Linked DNA regions of Homo sapiens: region 1 is linked to region 2. The links are contacts of gene promoters, found by promoter capture Hi-C in human tissues and cell types (Jung and others, 2019). All regions are on one chromosome and are shown on one strand. The core of a region is centred on a gene start or on the middle of the fragment in contact, and the rest is flanking DNA. Distances in the headings are between cores, read along the strand shown.

Region 1 (2,700 bases), core at 145-2,644, 640 kb after region 2:
ATTGTTTTATCTATCAACAAATTTAAAAAATACTGCCAATCATAATCCCATGACGCCGGTAACTATAAAATGCATCCTAATTTCTGAGATGTCAAAATCACAGAATGGATATAAGATGGTGTTGTTAATGTTTTCCCTTAGTGCCTATGGATTTAAAATGGACCTGTATTCTTACGCCACTTAAATAACTCATTAACAAAGAACAAGAATAACAACAAAAAACAAATTCAGCCCAGACATTCATTCCACGGTTATTAACAGATACTGTTCTAGGTACTGCACTTCATTTTCACAAAGGATATGCTCCTGAAGAAAAAGGATGTAGAATAAACGTAGAGATGTGGAAATTAATTTAAAGAAAAACCAATCCCACCTACAAAGGGACAAGTCCTTTTGCAAATGCGACAATGTGTGAATGTGTGACAAGCTATACAGAGTCTTCTGATGCGGTGACATATGGAGGGGAGATAACTTCTCAGAACTCCTCCAGCCTTGGGAAGTTAGTAAGGACAAAATTATAGTGCAATGACCCCCCATTCAAGTCGAGGAGCCCCTGATAATGCTCTCTTTATAGAGAAATGTTTTTCATTTGGCAGTCGCAACAATTCTTTGAAAATGTAAATAATTTCAGTGCTTGGCACATAATAGAGGTCACTAAATGTGTGCACTGAATACTGCCCACTCATGTACAATAAGTAACTTAATGGTGCCACACGTGTTTGCAAAAGGTCAGAAATCATTTCTATCTTGTACTTTGAGAAATTTTCAACCTAGGAAGCCATGAAAATACTAAAACACTGTAATGTTATTTGGGAGATGGGGTGGGCGAGACAATTCCTGCCTTCAAAGAACAACCAACTAAGGAGGCGAATCTACAGCATCACCGCAAGAGCTGGCTCTGGAATCAGGCCATGGGGGCGAGAACTCCAGCTCCACTTGGGACAAGTTACTCTGTGCCTCAGTTTCCTTATCTGTAAACGGGGGTTGTTGTGAGGGTTAAATGAGCTCTCTGTAAACAGCTTAGAAGCCTGCCTGGCACTATGTAAGTATGACTTATTATTAAGGAAGACAAGAGTTTGCAAATCAAATAAGGTAGTGAAAGAACAGGAAAGTGTGGGCTCCACGTGGACTAGTCAGTCTCAGGAGCACACGGAGCAAAGGTAATGTGGAAAATGCTTCTTAAAACCTGAGCCTCAAGCTATGTACTGAAATCCTCTTTTACTATCAACTTCAGACAATGTTACAGGAAAGAGGCCTAACTGCAAATTTCACGAGCATTTCGCGGTAGAGCACGAGAAACTTCCCTACTAGACTGAGGATGAAGCTTCATTATAGTTTGGCCCTGCTTCCCGTGTACCCCACCAGGAAGAACACAGTGAAAGAGGCCCCAGCAGTACAACCAGCACAGACGCAATTAATGTCTCAACTATGACTGAAATGGTGTAATTTGCCCAAGAAGAGAAACCAATTAATTTTAAAAACAGTCTAACCTCAACCCTACAGTTTTATGGTAACTCCACCCAATTATTATCTGTTCCTTTTTAGGTAACTCAGGGAAAAACCTCATGTTGTCCTTTTCTGTTCTAAATGACTGGTGGTTGGTTTGAGGGAAATCTCTCAATGTCAAGTCTTTGTAAACCCTCCAATCTTAAGAAATTATAATCTTTTCAATTAGGGTCCTTTAACTTGAAGAGCTCCACAAAGTGAACGAGTTCAGGAACATAAATCGTGATTCACCACCATCCTGAGGAGGAGGAGGGGATGCATTAATAATTTCAAATAATTGAAGGGAATGCTCCCAAAGAAGCAAGCTGTCCCCTCTTCTGCAATATCAACAAGTCCAGTTCCTTCATTTTCATAAGCAAACGTCAGCTTTGCCATCAACACATTTGTTACCGGGAGCAAAGAACTCTCACTTAATTGAAATGACAAAACGTTTGCAGAGGCCTTGCCAGAAAAAGCTCATTTTCAATGAACTGATGTCCAACCCTTGCTCAAGCCCAGATAAGACAGCTGAAACTTGAGAGTGCCAAGTGAATCCTCCATCACTCTAGGTTTCTAAACGCTATTCCTACACTGAGTCAAATCACAGTTAAGTAATTCAGCTGGACCAGTATTAGCTTAGCTAAGGAATGCCTTTGCTGGTTAGGACTTAACCCATTTATGTCAGAGGTTGCGATTTTTTTGTGTGGAAAAAAAATCAGACTTTGGTGATAACCTTGAGCGGGATATAAATAACTCCCACAAGCTTAGCGTTCCAATAATGGAACTCTAGGCATAAATGGGTTAATATCATAGTCTCCATTTCCATTCAGTGTTGTTTTAAGAAAAACTACATAAAATACACTTCTGTACAAAACTGCATCTATAGCATGACTCTTGTCCTAGGTAAATATTCATAATATACGGGTAAGCTTAAAAAGCAGGCAACAGTATATACTTGTGATGTGGCTTACCAAGGGAACAAAAGTACATATACAAAAATAAAATAACGTACAACTCCACCCCCAAAGTATTCACCGTGGTTATTTTTGGATGGGAAAACCAGAAAGGATTTAATAGTCTTTTTTTTTGTTTTCTGAGACGGAGTCTGGCCCTGTCGCCCAGGCTGGAGTGCAACAGCGTGATTTCACTGCAACCTCCGTCTCCCAGGTTCAAACGATTCTCCTGCCTCAGCCTCCCGAGTAGCTGGGATTACAG
Region 2 (2,700 bases), core at 178-2,677:
TCACTTCCTCAGAGACCTTTCCTATCTGTCTTAGTCCGTTTCCTGTTGCTTATAAAATAATTCCTAAAACTCGGTAATTTATAAAGAAAAGTAATTTATTGTCTAGTTTTGGAGGCTGGGAAGTCTAAGACTGACGGACCACGAGACAGCACCGCAAAGTATCACGTGGCCAGGGGGCTGAGCAGGCTCACGAGTTGTCAAGTCTCTCCTTAAAAAGCCACCAGTTCTACCTCCGTGATAACCCATTAATCCATGAATAGATCAATCCACTCGTGAAGACAGAACCCTCACGGTCCAACCACCTCTTAAAGACTCTACCTCTCAGTACTGCCACATTGGGGATTAAATTTCAACATGAGTTTTGAAGGGGACAGATATTCACACCATAGCACTACCTATCTAATACAGCCCATCACGTCCTGGTCAAAATCGATTCCACCATTCTGCTTGATTTTCCTCATATAACCCATCCCTATCTGATAATTTTGTGTTTGTTTCCCCGAAATCACTATCTTGTTCACTGTTGTCTCCCCAGGGACTAGAACAGTGGCCAGTAAACACTTGCTAATGAATAAAGTGCTTAACAAACGTGTCTTGATCAGTCTATCTCGCGTTTTCCCCACGACCCCTCTCCATTCATTCACAGGAACCCGCCAACGTTGCTATCCTTTCAGGAAGGTCCTTGGATCGTCATCGCTATCCCAAAGAGAGTCCGTTCTCCCACTTCAGGCGAGGCATTGCCAGCCTGGAAGCTAACGGGGTCTCAAGGACCGACAGCCGCGCCAAGACCGGGCACTTGCGTCTGACAAGCGCTGAACAGGGGCGGAGAAACAAGGCACCCCTCTACTCGCTTCCTGGAGCCTGCCGCCCTCCCAACCTTAAGCCCTGAACCAGGCTCTCATTTGGCCGCACTCGTGCCTCCCCTGCTGCCAGCACGGCGGCCGGTCCCGGTTACCTGCCTGGGATCTGGCTCAGGCGAACTCTCTTCACACCGCCATTTGAGGGAACACAAATGCCCGCTCTGGGCCACCGTAGTTCACAGAAAGTACAAGCTGGCACCTCCTCCCGCATGCGCAGAGACCGCCTTCGGCGAATAGTGTCTCTTAGCAACGGCTTTGAGTCCCTCCGCCAGGGGCGGAGCCTCGGAAGCCACCACGGGGAAGCTGTAAGGGGAAGTGAGTGAGACCAATCGGAGACGAATCTCTGCCCCGTTCGGCACGCCTCCCTTAACTGTCGCGAATGCAAAGGCAACTTTACGGCAGGCAGAGGGTGGGGGCTGCCGGGGGTAAGGAGGAGAGAAGGAAGCAACCAACCAACCAAGTCGTCCCTACTCCCTCCACCCCCACCCATCCCGGACCTGGTTTACGGCTCCAGGCTCAGGCTCCACTGCGGGCGCTGATTGGTTGTTGAAGGCTTGGTCCCATCCCAGTGACCCCAAAGTGCTGAAGGGAGGGGGCGGGGGTGGCCCAGTGCAAAGTGCATCCCGAAAGCCCCCTGTCCGGAGACCCCACGGCTGGCACTTCGGGCCCCGTATGACCTGGGACCTCGCCGTCCCGAGACCTCCTGGGTCCCTCCGTAGCTGGAAGCCTCCGGCCCGGAGCGCGGCAGCCCCCTGCTCCGAGCCCTGGACCGGGACTGCCCCCCCACCCGAGCCAGGACTTCCTCCCTGCCTCCCTGCACCTCTGCCCCAAGGCTGCCCGGCGGCCGGGATCGCCACCTCCTGCCTTCTCGGCTGTTCGGATGTTCGCCGGGCTGGGGCCGTGAGGCACCGAGGAGGATCAGGAACACCAGGGTCCGGCCCTGCCTGGGGTATTTCTTCAATGGAGAAGTTGGTGAGTGTAGAGGAGGCTGAAAGGAGGAAGAGAAGCAGCAGCTGAGGAGACAGGTAAAGTCCTTTACTTCCCCCGAGGGGAAGAGTGCTGGCTGGGAGGGTAGGAGGGAGGAAAATCTCTGCTTTTTCTTGCCTGCCCTTGCCACTCTCCAGCCCCTTTCCTGAGCTCCCCCCTCCCCACCTCTGAGACACTACACCACTCACTGGTTTCTGTTTTTCTAGGTTTGAGCTGGCTGAAGAAGACGCGAAAGCAGGAAGAGGTCTGCCCACCTATCAGAGAAGCAGAAGGCACAGTGCCTCTGACCAGCATCGTCTGTAAAGGTAATGAGCCAGCCCTCCCCTCCCCCGTTGTTTATTCCTGGCCCCTACCTCATTAAGCAGTGGTTTATTTTCAGGGTGGTTGCCTGGGAATGCAACCTTTCCTACCCCCCCCACCCCCACCCCCAGTTTCCCAGGAAAAACAAAAACATTACCCGTGCCTGATACTTAACATTTTATAACTTCTCTACCCAGGACAGTATTTTCCCACTTTCTTTCTGTACAGTGTGTTTCTGTGTTTTTCATTATCTTTTGGTACACTGTGCCATTTACTCTGCTCTGAGGCTTTGAGACCTTTTTGTAGCTACCCTCCCTTCCTTACTCTCATAGGAATTCCTCAATTCCTTGTTAATTGCTTGTTAATTCTGAATGACTTTCCTTTTTAATTAAACCACAATTTACTGTTTTCCCCCTTACTCTTTCCTATCACCTTTCTTCTACCTGCATCAGAAAAATCTTTTGAGTTATCTAACTGACAACGATTTGGTAGAGAAAGGTAAATTATTGGCCTGAGATTTATGAGTTTCAGAAAATAGTTTGATTTTATTTCC

Evidence for each region. Contacts are between HindIII fragments. The study calls those that stand out against the background at their distance.
Region 1: a contact is called between a fragment that was not itself captured here and the fragment with the promoter of ASB7 in region 2, in 1 of the 25 tissues and cell types used here (mesenchymal stem cells).

What each region holds. Positions count from the first base shown.
Region 1 is chr15:101,238,534-101,241,233 of GRCh38, forward strand. The region is part of intron 1 of CHSY1 (chondroitin sulfate synthase 1); the gene reads right to left. Among named protein-coding and RNA genes, the nearest start is that of CHSY1, 12 kb to the right of the region's middle. RefSeq lists an enhancer at 1,311-1,360. The HindIII fragment of the contact is 3,239 bases long and covers 1-2,700 here.
Region 2 is chr15:100,601,162-100,603,861 of GRCh38, forward strand. ASB7 (ankyrin repeat and SOCS box containing 7) reads left to right here and starts at 1,428. Exons shown (of 6, transcript NM_198243.3): 1 at 1,428-1,885; 2 at 2,054-2,152. It overlaps LINS1 (lines homolog 1), which reads right to left and starts at 1,023. Exons shown (of 7, transcript NM_001040616.3): 1 at 960-1,023. RefSeq lists an enhancer at 941-1,280 and silencers at 1,451-1,710, 2,161-2,210. The HindIII fragment of the contact is 8,332 bases long and covers 1-2,700 here.